4 separate regions of the Homo sapiens genome follow, and all the other regions are linked to region 1. The links are contacts of gene promoters, found by promoter capture Hi-C in blood cells and fetal thymus (Javierre and others, 2016). All regions are on one chromosome and are shown on one strand. The core of a region is centred on a gene start or on the middle of the fragment in contact, and the rest is flanking DNA. Distances in the headings are between cores, read along the strand shown. Region 1 holds the start of NIN (ninein). Region 2 overlaps L2HGDH (L-2-hydroxyglutarate dehydrogenase). Region 3 holds the start of ARF6 (ARF GTPase 6). Region 4 holds the start of NEMF (nuclear export mediator factor).

Region 1 (3,427 bases), core at 304-2,803:
ATCTTAGAAGTCCTCAACACCAGGAGAGGATCTGTCCTAGTTAGGAGCAGAAAGCAGATCTCATAATATCCAAGTTGTCTGGAAACATGATATATGGTAGGGCAGTCTTTCCAGCTCCCATTTTGTTGGTGCCTTCACCTCGGGTTGTCAGGGCTGGGGTTAGGGAAATTGCCTCTTTCCGTCTCTATCTCTTTTAACTTCGCAGCGAGAGCTGGAAGCAGTGACTGTTCCCATCACCTAGTGTCCTTCTGTCAGGGGCCGCTTCGGTAGCTACAGAAGCCTAGCCGCTGGAAGCTTCCTTCCCCGACACTCCATACCTCCATGCCACACCTTTTAGGCAATAACCAAATGTCATTTTGTTCTTTCCCCTTCTCCTGGGCATTATACTGGGAAACTGTTTACGCGCATCGACCCCGCACACCTCCAAAAATCTCCACTTTCCGGGCTCCAAGCAGCTCTCCGCTACTCAGACAGCCCAGGCTAACACCTCGGATTTCCCCATGCAGTTTCCTCTGCAGCGTCTCAATCACAAGGCTGTACGGGCGGCACATGCCAACGGAACCACCACCCCTTCTGCTCCCTCGGGGACTCAAGCCTGCTCTCGGTCAAAGCACAGAAGCGGCTTTCAGCTCCGGGCAGGCGGCCGGGGCGTCGGGGGTACTGGAAGTGCCCAAACCCAGCGGTGCTGCCGCGCGGGGAAGCGGAGGTGCGGCCGCAGGACAAGCGCGCCTCCCAAGTCCCTGGCCACCTGCGATGCGTCCTCAACTCGCCTGCCCATCGCCACTACCAGAAACCTCAGACAGCCCATTGTGTGGGCAGGCAGCGCGCTCCCCCGGCCCCGCCGCCCTCGCCTACCTTCTGTCGGTCTCTCCGGAGCGCCCGCACAGCCGGCAGCCCGCCTCCAGCGCTCTGCAAAGCGAAGGAGGACGCTTTGTTAGGGCTGGAGAAACGGGACAATACTTCGCAGCCGGCGCAGCGGTTCCGGGCGGGCGTCCTTCAAAAGGACGCGAATGGGGACCCGCGTGAGCGTCATTTCCATATGTAAGGGGCCAGCTCTTACAAAAGCGCGGCTCTCGGGGGCCGCGGGCTGCAGCGCGCATCCTCCCCGCCCCCGCCGGCCCGCCCCCGCCCGCGCAGCCCGCGCCTCCGGGACCGGCCCCTCCTCCCGCCTCCGAAGCAGCCCCGTCCCCGCCTCGTCCTCCCGCCCGGCCGCTGCTTCCTCCCGGCCCGCAGGGATTGCGCCCCGCTGGCCCCGGACCCCAAATGGGAAGCCCCCGAGTGATCCGGTGCCCAGTTCGCTCCGGGCTCTCAGGGCCTCGCCGACGGCGCGGGGGCAGCGCGAGGCCTCCGTGCACCCCCAGGCCGTGGGTCCGGGTCCCCGGGGTTGCGCCACTTACTGCGTCCCGGGGCTCAGGCGCCCGGCGCCGCCGCGGGAACCATGGCCGCTGGCGCACTCCGGGCTTGGCGGCGGCAGCGGGACGGCCGCGCCCAGCGCGCTCGGCTCCCGGCTCGGCCGCGGCCACCCGGAGCTCTGGACGCCGGGGAGGAAGGGCCGGGCCCGCGCGGGGAGGAGGAGTCAGGGCGACGCCGGCCCCGGCGCGGCTCCTCCTCTGCGGCCCGCGCGGCTCAGGCAGCGGAGGGAGGAGCGGGCGGCGCCGCCTGAGCCCTCGCAGACGCGCCCTCCCGCTCCGAGCGCCCGCCTCCGAGATCTGAAGTTAGAAACGCCGGGGCTCCGGGTGCGGGTGTAGGAGGCTGGCGCCCCGAGGTCGCCACCGAGCTGGGGCTGGCGCTGCCACCCTCGCCCCTTGCCTGTCCGCCTCCCTTTCTTTCCCAACACGCCTACACTCACCCGCACCGCGGACACTCGGGCCGCAGCGTCTTCGCGCAGAGGAAGGGCCCCCGCCTTCAGCAAGCGGGACTTTAAGGGGGTGATTTCCCAGCCCTCGGGTGTCGATTGGCCATCAACATTGGAAAGGGTGTTCAGGAGGCAGAAGGGCTGTAGAAGTGACTCGGAACCCTGTAGAGCGAGCGCGACCCTCCTGCCGGGTCTACACTGGCTTCCGCACCTGCCCACCACGTCCTCACAGGCTCCCGCCCCTGTGCAGCCTTCTCCGGGTGAAGCTAACCCTCGGTCGCAAGCCACACAGGACGAAAACTCCTTGGAGTTGGTGGTTCCCAGCCCAACAGTTGCTCGATATTAATCGCCTCCTACCTACTACCCCAGAGTCTGCGTTCTCACTCCCCCATCCCTACACTTCTGATCTCATTGCAGTCAAATAGGATCCCAAGTCCAGGCCATGGTTCTTTTTGAGCTGCAGGGTTAAATGTGTTGCCCTTGAAGGATCCGCCTGATGGATTACAACCCACAAGTCTGGTTATTTTAGCAGGAAACTGGTGATTCCTTTTCTACCGAGAAAGCAAGCAACAGACAAGAGGAAACCAGCATTCCTTGAGAATCCAGTGCGCTAGAAACTCGACAGAAATTATCTTATCTAATTCTCACATCACTCTTAGGAGGCAGACATTATTTTGCAGATGAGGAAAATGGATCTCCCAGAAGTCAAAGAGCTTCCTCAGGATCACACAGCAGGAACTCCACAGAACTGAGATTCAAAAGCAGATCACATATGTGGCAAAATTGCATAGAACTGAATATACACTCACAAATGAGAGCACGTGAAACTCATGAAATTTGAATAAGACATTTGGACTACACTAATGTCCATTTACTGATTGTAATATTGTTCTACAGTTATGCAAAATGTTACCATTGAGAAAAATTAAGTGAAGCGTCTATAGGGAATCTCTCTATTATTCCTTACAACTTCAAGCGAATTTACAGTTACCTCAAAAAATTTTTTTAAAAATTTTAAACATCTCAGTCTTATTCAAAAGCCCAGGCTCTCTTCTTTCAACACGGTATATAAGCGTGCCTGCAGAATAAGAGAGATTTATGCTCCTCTCTCCTTTTTAAACAGTCTTGAATAAGTACACATACACACACAAACACACACTCATACACTGTATGCATGGTTGTTCAGTCATCCAGTAATATGATACAACACACACACACACACACGCAGTTCATTAAGAGGATAGCTAACCTGTTACCAGAATACTTACATAGAGGTCATCTTGTAAGACAGACAATAATGCTCACTGGGCACTAAAACAGCCAACAGTCTTGGAAGGTAAGAATGAAGAGGTGTCTTTCTTGTTTCACCTAATCTCTGCCATGGAAGCCTCATCCTACTGGTTACCTCTCCAAGCATCGCTTTTTAACCTGCAAGAATCCTTAAGGATGATATTGATCATTAGTTTAAAACAGTGATTCCTGGGGGTCAGGGGATATTGGAAGTGGCATTCACTCCCTGTGCAGGAAGATCAGAATTGCTGGGGGTTGTGTAATTTGAAAAACACAAGATGC
Region 2 (3,575 bases), core at 937-3,436, 520 kb before region 1:
TGTATTTTTACTAGAGACGAGGTTTCACCACGTTGGTCAGGCTGGTCTCAAACTCCTGACCTCAGGTGATCCACCCGCCTCGGCCTCCCAAAATGCTGGGAATACAGGCGTGAGCCACTGCGCCTGGCCCCTTGCTGCCTTTTGATAATTATAACACAAAAGCTTTTGGGGAGGTAGACCTTCCACTTAGAATTATTACCTTGGTACAGATTCCCAGCCAAGATATTGTCTTTGCAGATTATACTACAACTATCAATAAACCCTTCTTATTTTCAAACATAAAACTATCATACTGAATATGCTTTTTCCAACTACATGTGCCACCCTTCACTCCCTCTTCTCAAATCTGAAGAATCACTGTTTTATCCAGTGACACAAAATCATTGAAATATGTTTCACAAACAAAAGCACAAATCTCCAAGCATCCACTATGGAGACAGGTGAACAGAACAATAGTCATAGATGAATGCTGGAGGACAGTTGCAGGCCAAGCTAACCACGGAGGCTGAAAGAGACATCTTTCTCTACAACTCACTTAATCTCAAGTTAACACCAATGAATGGTTTAACAGATAATTTTCTTAAGCTTTTTATGGAAAAGTTCATACCTACACAAAGTTAGACAAAATAGTTCAATGAAGCCCCACATATACATCACCCAGCTTCACTAATTATCAACTCACAGCAAATCTTGCTTCTTCTATACTCTATTTCATCCCCTCCTGTATTATATTATTTTGATGCAAATCTTAAACACCACATTATTTCATCTGTAAATATTTCAATGTTATTTCTAAAAGGCATCTCTAAAAACACACACTACCATTATAGTTAAAAAAACTAACACAAAATTTTTTACATCACCTAATATTCACTTTAAAACTTTTAGGAAAAAATAGGACAAAATCTTGGGACTTAGAGTTGACATCAAAAACATGATCCATAAAAGAAAAAAAACTGATAAAATGGACTTCATCAAAACATAAAACTTTTGCTCTGCAAAAAGACTCTGTTAAGAGGATAAAAAAACTAAGAAATTGGAAAAAAATACTAGTAACTGCATATCTCCCAAAGGACTCATACATAAAAGAACTCTCAAAACAAGCCATTTAGAACGTAGGCAGGCCGGGTGCGATGGCTCACGCCTTTAATCCCAGCACTTTGGGAGGCCAAGGCGGGCGGATCACCTGACGTCAGGAGTTTGAGACCAGCCATGCCAACATGGAGAAACCCCATCTCTACTAAAAAGACAAAATTGGCTGGGCATGGTGGCGCATGCCTGTAATCCCAGCTACTCGGGAGGCTGAGGCAGGAGAATTGCTTGAACCCAGGAGGCCTCTGCGGTGAGCCGAGACCGCGCCACTGCGCTCCAGCCTGGGCAACAAGGCGAAACTCCATCTCAGAAAAAAAAAAAAAAAAAAAGTGGGCAAAAGATATGAACAAATATTTCATCAAAGAGGACAGATACACAGATGGCAAAGAAGCACATGAAAAGATGTTCAACACCATTAGTCAATGCATTGTTCAAACATCATTGCATCAGAGAAATGTAAATAAAAACCACAATGAGATATCACTACGTCTCTATCAGAATGGCTAAAATTTAAAAAGTGATCACCCCAAATGCTGGTGAGAATGAAGGGAAACTGGATTACTCACACATAGCTGGTGGGAATGTAAAATAGTACAGCCACTCTGGAAAAGAGTATGGCAGTTTCTTAAAAAGAAACTAAACATGGACTTACTACATGACTCAGTAACTGCAGTCTTGGGCATTTATTCCAGAGAAATGAAACTTATGTTCATACAAAAACCTGAACATGAATGTTCATAGTAGCTTTATTCGTAATAGCCAAAAACTGGAAGCAGCTTGGATGTTCTTCAACCCATGGTAAACGGTTAAACAAATTGTGATGTATCCATACCATGGAATTCTATTCAACAATTTTGAAAAACCTGCTATCAATACAGGCGACGCCTTGCATGGATCTTAAGGATAGTATGCTGTGTGAAAAAAAGCCAATCTCCAAAGGCTTGTTTTGAGAGTTCTTTATGTATTTTGTGTATTAGTCCTTTGGGAGATATGCAGTTGCTGGTATTTTTTTCCCACGTCTTGGTAGTTTTTTCATTCTCTTAACAGTCTTTTGCAGAGCAAAAGTTTTTCATTTTGATGAAGTCCATTTTGTCAATTTTTTTCTTTTAGAGATCATGCTTTTGATGTCATCTCTATGTCCAAAGATCTTGTCCTTTTTCTAAAAGTTTTATACTGAATATTTGGTGATATAAAAAATTTCAGGCCGGGTGCAGTGGCTCATGCCTGTAATCCCAATACTTTGGGAGGCTGAGGCGGGTGGATCACCTGAGGTCAGGAGTTTGAGACCAGCCTGGCCAACACGGTGAAACCCTATCTCTACTCAAAATACAAAATCAGCTGGGCGTGGTGGCACATGCCTGTAATCCCAGCTACTCAGGAGGCTGAGGCAGGAGAATCCCTTCAACCTAGGAGACAGAGGTTGCAGTGAGCCAAGATCATGCCACTGTACTCCAGCCTGGGTGACAAAGCGAGACTTCGTGTTAAAAAAAAAAAAAAATTTAGATTCACAGTTGCCAAGAGTTAGGAAGAATGGAGAGGAAGGTGTGAATATAAAGAGATAGGTAACACAACAGATAACCTTGTGGCAATAGAATATTTTTATACCACCCTTTTTTTTTTTTTTAAGAGAGTCTTGCTCTGTTGTCCAGGCTTCAGCGCGGCGGTGTAATCACAGGTCACCACACCTTCAACCTCCTGGGCTCAAGCGATCCTCCTGCCTCAGCCCCACAAGTGGCTGGGACTACAGGAGCAAGCCACCACACCTGGCTAATTATTTTTTAATTTTTTTGTAGAGCAGGGGTTTTGCCGTCTCCCTTTGTTGCCCAGGCTGGTCTCCAACTCTGAGGCTCAACCTATCCTCCCACCTCGGCCTCCCAAAGTGCTGAGATTATAGGCATGAGCCAGCATGCCTGGCCACATTTTCATATCTTAATTGAGGTGGTAGTTACACAAATTAATACATATGATTAAACTGCATAGAACTAAACACACACACACACACGAATATATGTAAAACTGATGAAAGCTGAACAATGTCCGTGGATTTTGCCAATATCAATTTCCTAGTTTTGATATTGTACTATAGTTATATAAGATGTTTTCATTGGGGTAAATGGGGTGAAGGGTACATGGGATCTCTTTGTACTGTTTATTTATTTTTATTTTTTATTTTGTAGAGAAGGGATCTTATATTTTGCCCAGGCTGGTCTCAAACTTCTGGGCTCAAGTGATCCTCCTGCCTCAGCCTCCCAAAGCACTGGGATTACAGGCCTGAGTCACCACGCTTGGCCTGTACTATTTTTGCAATTTCCAATGGATCTATAATTACTTCAAAATAAAAGTATAGGCCAGGCACGGTGGCTCACACCTGTAATCTCAGCACTTTGGGTGGCTGAAGAGGGAGGTTCACTTGAGGCCAGGGGTTCGAGACCACCCTGGGCAACGTCTCTACAAAAAAATAGGAAAATAATTAGCTGCCTGTG
Region 3 (3,200 bases), core at 198-2,697, 940 kb before region 1:
TAAAAACAGTATGTTACCATATGCTGTTTATAGCATCTTGCTTTTTAAACAAAGATACCCATTTCCTGTTTTTCTCCCCTTGATATTTGAAGGTTTCACGTTATTTTAAGTCTAATTTTATCATTAACCATTTGATACAAAAATGTGTCCTTGGCAGGGCGCAGTGGCTCACGCCTGTAATCCCAGCATTTTGGGGGGCCGAGGCGGGTGGATCACCTGAGGTCAGGACTTCGAGACCAGCCTGGCCAACATGGTGAAACCCCGTCTCTACTAAAAATACAAAAATTAGCCGGGCGTGGTGGTGGGCGACCTAATTCCAGCTGCTCCGGAGGCTAAGGCAGAACTGCTTGAACCCAGGATGAGGAGGCTGCAGTGAGCCGAGATTGTGCAACTGGACTCCAGCCTGGGCGACAGAGTGAGACCCCGTCTCAAGAAACAAACAAAAACCAAAAAACCAAAAATGTGCCCTGAAGTCTTCCACATTGTATTATTTAAGCCTCACGTGAGTTAGCAAGGTCAGTTTACACGAGATAAACTTAGTAAGGTTAAGTGCCCAGATCCAGGCCATACAAGCGGTCGTTCTATATTCTAAATTCTATGCTTCTTAAAGTTAAGAATGGGTAGTAGTTAAGAAGCTACTACTAACAGTATGAGATAAAATGATATTTTAAAGATGAACAGATGTCGCATTCTAAAAAGGTGAAAACGCGGCAAGGCACAGGAACTCTTCATAATACTGCAGTTTTTAAGAAACATGGGCTGGTCTTGACGAGACCTATAGGCAGACAGGGCTCAAACATTCAAAAGAGCTGCAGAGTAAACTCAACTCCGGGAAAGCGCTGCACTGACTGGCAGATTCCACACGAGACACTGGCCTCCCACGTGTCTTTCAGGAAACATACAAAATTCAAGGGATAAAGGAAGCCAAGAAGGGGTTGCGAAAAAGGGAAAAAAAAAAAAAACAAAAGCGAACAGAGCTTCCCTGGGACGTTCAGGGAGCGCGGAGGGTGCGGGAAGGCTGGGGCGGGCGGAGGGAATTCGCAGAGCATCTGGCGGGCACCGAGGTCTGGGAACAGGCCTGGAGGCAGCTCGGTTCGTGGAGAGAGCGGGCTGCCCGTGGGCCCCACCCTGTAGGGCCCCCCAGTAGATCTGCTCCCTTGGTTCGGGTGGGCAGGGGAGGGCAGAGCGCAAAAGAGAAAAGCAGGGAAGGAGACGCTAGAAGAGCCACGGGTAGGCGCGAGTCAGAGTCCGAGGTTCGAGGGCTCTGGGCCGGCCGCATCTGCGAGCCCTCCGAGGCGCCGTAGCCCCGCCCCTCCGGCGCGTGGCGCCCATGACGCTAGGCGCGCGGGCCGCTCTCCTTACAGAGGTCGCTCTTGTCCGAACGGTCGGCCTCTGCTGCGCCTGCGTGGTCGGGAGGGGAAGTGAGGCGGTTTCCTCGGCGCCTTTTCCGGCAGCGGCGGCGGCAGAACTGGGAGGAGGAGTTGGAGGCCGGAGGGAGCCCGCGCTCGGGGCGGCGGCTGGAGGTAACCCCTTGGGCCGAGCTGGAAAGGCGGGCCACCTCGGTCTTCGCTCCTTTGTGGAGCTCTGGCAGTAACTCCCCTCCCTCTCTGTTTCTCTGCAGGCAGCGCACCGAGTTCCCGCGAGGATCCATGACCTGACGGGGCCCCGGAGCCGCGCTGCCTCTCGGGTGTCCTGGGTCGGTGGGGAGCCCAGTGCTCGCAGGCCGGCGGGCGGGCCGGAGGGCTGCAGTCTCCCTCGCGGTGAGAGGAAGGCGGAGGAGCGGGAACCGCGGCGGCGCTCGCGCGGCGCCTGCGGGGGGAAGGGCAGTTCCGGGCCGGGCCGCGCCTCAGCAGGGCGGCGGCTCCCAGCGCAGTCTCAGGGCCCGGGTGGCGGCGGCGACTGGAGAAATCAAGTTGTGCGGTCGGTGATGCCCGAGTGAGCGGGGGGCCTGGGCCTCTGCCCTTAGGAGGCAACTCCCACGCAGGCCGCAAAGGCGCTCTCGCGGCCGAGAGGCTTCGTTTCGGTTTCGCGGCGGCGGCGGCGTTGTTGGCTGAGGGGACCCGGGACACCTGAATGCCCCCGGCCCCGGCTCCTCCGACGCGATGGGGAAGGTGCTATCCAAAATCTTCGGGAACAAGGAAATGCGGATCCTCATGTTGGGCCTGGACGCGGCCGGCAAGACAACAATCCTGTACAAGTTGAAGCTGGGCCAGTCGGTGACCACCATTCCCACTGTGGGTTTCAACGTGGAGACGGTGACTTACAAAAATGTCAAGTTCAACGTATGGGATGTGGGCGGCCAGGACAAGATCCGGCCGCTCTGGCGGCATTACTACACTGGGACCCAAGGTCTCATCTTCGTAGTGGACTGCGCCGACCGCGACCGCATCGATGAGGCTCGCCAGGAGCTGCACCGCATTATCAATGACCGGGAGATGAGGGACGCCATAATCCTCATCTTCGCCAACAAGCAGGACCTGCCCGATGCCATGAAACCCCACGAGATCCAGGAGAAACTGGGCCTGACCCGGATTCGGGACAGGAACTGGTATGTGCAGCCCTCCTGTGCCACCTCAGGGGACGGACTCTATGAGGGGCTCACATGGTTAACCTCTAACTACAAATCTTAATGAGCATTCTCCACCCATCCCCTGGAAGGAGAGAAATCAAAAACCCATTCATAGGATTATCGCCACCATCACCTCTTTCAATTGCCACTTTCTCTTCTTTTGAATTTGAACTCTGGAGTTACTGTTCTACAGTTTGGCGGGGACGGGGCTTGGGGGTTTTCTCTTTTGTTTGTTTCCCTTTCTTTTTCCTTTTTTTTTTTTTTTTTTTTTTGTTGGCTTTGCGTTAGGATGCTCTGATCTGACATTTGACATGAACACAAAGTTGCTAGATGCTCTTGTTGACTTCCAGCAGATGGGATGGGGGAAACACAGCAGTTCTTGGTAAAGTCCTTTGTAATAATAGTTTGATTTTTTTATTTCGAGAGAATCTTTCATTTTCCTATGTATGCTTTTTTCCTTTTTTGCCCAGTTTCCTTATCACTTGCTGTAGATGGCTTATTTTGCATTCATGCAGACTATGTTGCAAGTCTGTTTCATCTAGTAAACTGAAAATTATTGCTTAATCAAACTGCCGTTTGTCTTTTATATTTAAGGCCTTCCCCCCCCTTCCTTATGAGTTCTAACTTAGTA
Region 4 (3,281 bases), core at 513-3,012, 980 kb before region 1:
AAACCCCATCTCTACTAAAAATAGAGAAATTAGCCGGGTCTGGTGGCACACGCCTGTAATCCCAGCTACTGAGGAGGCTGAGGCAAGAGAATCACTTGAACCTGGGAGGCAGAGGTTGCAGTGAGCCAAGACTGTGCCACTGCACTCCAGCCTGGGTGACAGAGCGAGACTCCTTCTCAAAAACGAACAAAAAAACAAACAAACAAAAACAAAAAAATTAACGTTGGTCTAATTTAGAATTGTTTTGATGCAGAGAAGTGAATTACAGTTAAGGAACTGTAAGGCTGAATGTGATAAAAGCTTGAACTCTAATAGTGACTGTGGAAACAGAAGATCTGGAGCAGAACAGGATGTGAAAGGTAATGGGGAGAAATCAATTAATAAATATTCACTTTATTCAACCCATTATCTGTCAACCACTCCCTTTACCTTCATTTTATCTGCACTTTATTCGTAACAGTGAAGGAAACCCCAATTAAAAACTTAATTGTTAGTGAGCAATCTCTTAAAATTTAGCTTCAAGCGTAACAAGTTTACCTTCATGGCAAAACTAGACGGCATCATATTCTTAGGCCACTCAAATTCTGTTGTATGAATTCGTATGCCAGATTCAAGTAAAAGTGTAGCTTTAAAGTCCGGTCTGTAGAAGAAAAAAGTCGAATTTTTCTTTAGGGTATATGCCAAAGCTAATTGCTAAACAGGCTTAAAATGTAGGTTAAAAAAAATCAGTAATCTCATACTTAATTGTCAAAGAGAAAATAAGCCTATAAAATGTTCTTACTTTTGAAGACGAATAAGGTATGTCTTATTATCCACATCATAAACATTGTTTACTCTCATTCCTAGCAAGCTGCAAAGATAAAGGAAACATGTAACATGTTACACTATTGTCTGAAACATAAAACTACACATAATTTAATAAAAGCTTCGAAAGAGCGGATCTCAGTCTCTAAGGATATGGAGTCAGCCGAGGAGCAGAGTCTGAAAGCCATTTGGAGATTCAGTTCAAAACTTAAGAGTAACGATTTAAAAACAGAAGTGGTCTATCAGCTCTAGGAACAACACACTATAGCTTGCGTCTTCCAAATGACCCAATTTTGGGGGAGAAATACAGTAAAATATAATCCAATTAATTTATTACAAGGGAGAAAAAAAAAAGATAAAAGAGGGCCCCGAAAATATGACAAAGCTCACAGGGCTGAATAATAGAATCCAGACTAGAATCCAGATCTCAGTCCAAATCTGCTCAATCCAGCTAAAACCGCGATGCTCTCTCTCTCTCTGGGGTGAGGGGAGGGAGGTGTTCAAGAAACCAAGCCCCCAGTCTGGAAACCTCTGAAGCAAACGACCACTCTGGCGTCTCGTGTTTTAACAAACGTTTCCTGCCCAACCCGGACAACCCAGGCCAACAATGCAAGAGCTTCGCGCTAGCGGGGCAAGCCAGAGAGCTGGGAGGACGCGGGGGATGGGGCACGAGGTGCCTGGGACCCCCAGGGGTATCCTAAGGGTCACGGGAAAGACACCACACGCCTGCCCACTCAGGCCTAGGCAGGTCCATAGACGCACTAGGAAATAAGGAAACATATCAAGCTGGTCTGTTTGCGCCATGGGACTCCGGCCTCTGCCTCCTGCACTCCCCACACGAGCCTCGTCACTTAGGGTACTGTACCTAGCATTCAGCTCCGCGAGTACGGCGCGGAGGTCAATGGTGCTAAAGCGGCTCTTCATGGCGAGGCCCGAGGGTCACTACCGCAAGTTCCTCTACTGCCCGGCCGGACTCGACGCCACTTCTCCTCCGCGCAGGCGCACTTGGCGGAGCTCTACGGCCGCGCAGAAGACCCAATATTCCTCGAGGCGAACGTATTTGTGTCGCTTTTCTGAAGATTTCGATTGTCAAGTTGCAGCTGACTCTCTTCATTGTACCAAAATTCAAATTCGAATAAAGATTCAAACTGTTCTCTTGAAACTGCATTCCTTCCTGGAACCCTTACGGACCAGTCTGGTTACCGTGCCCCATTGTGTCTTGGGCTCAAGTCAGCCTTCATAGTGACCCCTGCTGGTCGAAACAATTTTCGAGATGATTATCAGGAGTATTTCCCCACAGGGGGGCCGTAGGGCTCAGTGTAGAAGAGCAAGGACCCCTTTCTGCGCGCTTACTTTGACATAAGATTTTGAAATGTAACGAAACGGAACTGCTTCGGTCCTTCTAAGATTATCCTCAACGATCGAGGCGAACTCTCAAAACGGAGTTCCTATTTTGATGGGTCCTGCTCTCGGAAGGAGCATTCTGCAATTGATTACAGGATTCTCATCGAACCTCGGTCTTGGTACCCCTGAGACTCACCGCAGTACCTGGTGTACAATCGGTGCTCCATAAACACTTGGCAGCATGAATGTGCAAGTGTTTAGCTAGATAATGGTGAAATAAGATAAAAATAAAAACAAGAAGATTCCCAATGGGGGTGGGGTGGGAGGGGGGATTCACAGTGTAGTGAGGAAAATAGTCCTGTAAGAATGTAAATTCTGCATTTCTTTTGTCTTAGGATAGATGCATGGGAAGAAAGGCTACTTTATAAGGTGAGAACTCAAAAGAGGCAGGGTCTCACTATGTTGCCCAGGCTGGAGTGCAGTGGCTATTCACAGGCGCAATCCCACTACTGATCAGCACGGGAGTTTTGACCTGCTCCGTTTCCGACCTGGGCCGGTTCACCCCTCCTTAGGCAACCTGGTGGTCCCCCGCTCCCGGGAGGTCACCATATTGATGCCGAACTCAGTGCGGACACCCGATCGGCATAGCGCACTACAGCCCAGAACTCCTGAACTCAAGGGATCCTCCAGCCTCAGCCTCCCGAGTAGCTGGGACTACAGGCACGCGCCACCGCGCCCGGCGCTCGGCGTCGCTGCAAAAGAGCTGCTAGAGGCTTGCAGGCTACACATGGTAGCAACCAGAATTCCTACCACCAGAAGGCGACTCTAAACAGAAAGGGCGCCGCTGCTATTTCAGAACTGGTACCAGTAGATGCAAAAATGGCTATAGCACATACTGCACAGCATTACTGTCATACGGTACAGTAAACCATACAGAATGGCCCAAAATATGAAAGCATTGGGGAGAAGGTGGAGAACAGGGAACTTTTGTATGCTGTTGATGGGAATGTAAATTAGTAGAGCCATTGTGCAAAACAGTATAAAGGCTCCTCACAAAATTAAGAATAGAATTACCATGTGATCTAGCAACAACATCACTATCCTGAAGATATATGTTCATGTTCATTGCAGCA

What was found. Contacts are between HindIII fragments. The CHiCAGO score rates a contact against its expected background, and 5 or more counts as called.
Region 2: a fragment that was not itself captured here is called in contact with the fragment with the promoter of NIN in region 1 in 1 of 17 cell types (naive CD4 T cells); the score reaches 5.0 in naive CD4 T cells.
Region 3: the fragment with the promoter of ARF6 here is called in contact with the fragment with the promoter of NIN in region 1 in 9 of 17 cell types (total CD4 T cells, fetal thymus, non-activated CD4 T cells and 6 more); the score reaches 13.0 in total CD4 T cells.
Region 4: the fragment with the promoter of NEMF here is called in contact with the fragment with the promoter of NIN in region 1 in 3 of 17 cell types (naive CD8 T cells, non-activated CD4 T cells and fetal thymus); the score reaches 7.7 in naive CD8 T cells.

What each region holds. Positions count from the first base shown.
Region 1 is chr14:50,829,609-50,833,035 of GRCh38, forward strand. It overlaps NIN (ninein), which reads right to left and starts at 1,554. Exons shown (of 31, transcript NM_020921.4): 1 at 1,398-1,554; 2 at 856-909. RefSeq lists an enhancer at 236-285 and silencers at 856-975, 996-1,045, 1,116-1,395, 1,446-1,895. The HindIII fragment of the contact is 8,436 bases long and covers 293-3,427 here.
Region 2 is chr14:50,306,987-50,310,561 of GRCh38, forward strand. All of the region lies in intron 1 of L2HGDH (L-2-hydroxyglutarate dehydrogenase), which reads right to left. Among named protein-coding and RNA genes, the nearest start is that of L2HGDH, 3.5 kb to the right of the region's middle. The HindIII fragment of the contact is 3,207 bases long and covers 584-3,575 here.
Region 3 is chr14:49,891,635-49,894,834 of GRCh38, forward strand. It overlaps ARF6 (ARF GTPase 6), which reads left to right and starts at 1,448. Exons shown (of 2, transcript NM_001663.4): 1 at 1,448-1,523; 2 at 1,622-3,200. The coding sequence starts at 2,103. The coding sequence ends at 2,630. RefSeq lists enhancers at 1,008-1,107, 1,978-2,297, 2,328-2,377 and silencers at 1,198-1,587, 1,628-1,817. The HindIII fragment of the contact is 6,329 bases long and covers 1-3,200 here.
Region 4 is chr14:49,851,026-49,854,306 of GRCh38, forward strand. NEMF (nuclear export mediator factor) reads right to left here and starts at 1,763. Exons shown (of 33, transcript NM_004713.6): 1 at 1,670-1,763; 2 at 782-850; 3 at 538-640. The coding sequence starts at 1,728. It also overlaps RN7SL3. RefSeq lists an enhancer at 1,770-2,009 and a silencer at 2,813-2,872. The HindIII fragment of the contact is 4,280 bases long and covers 924-3,281 here.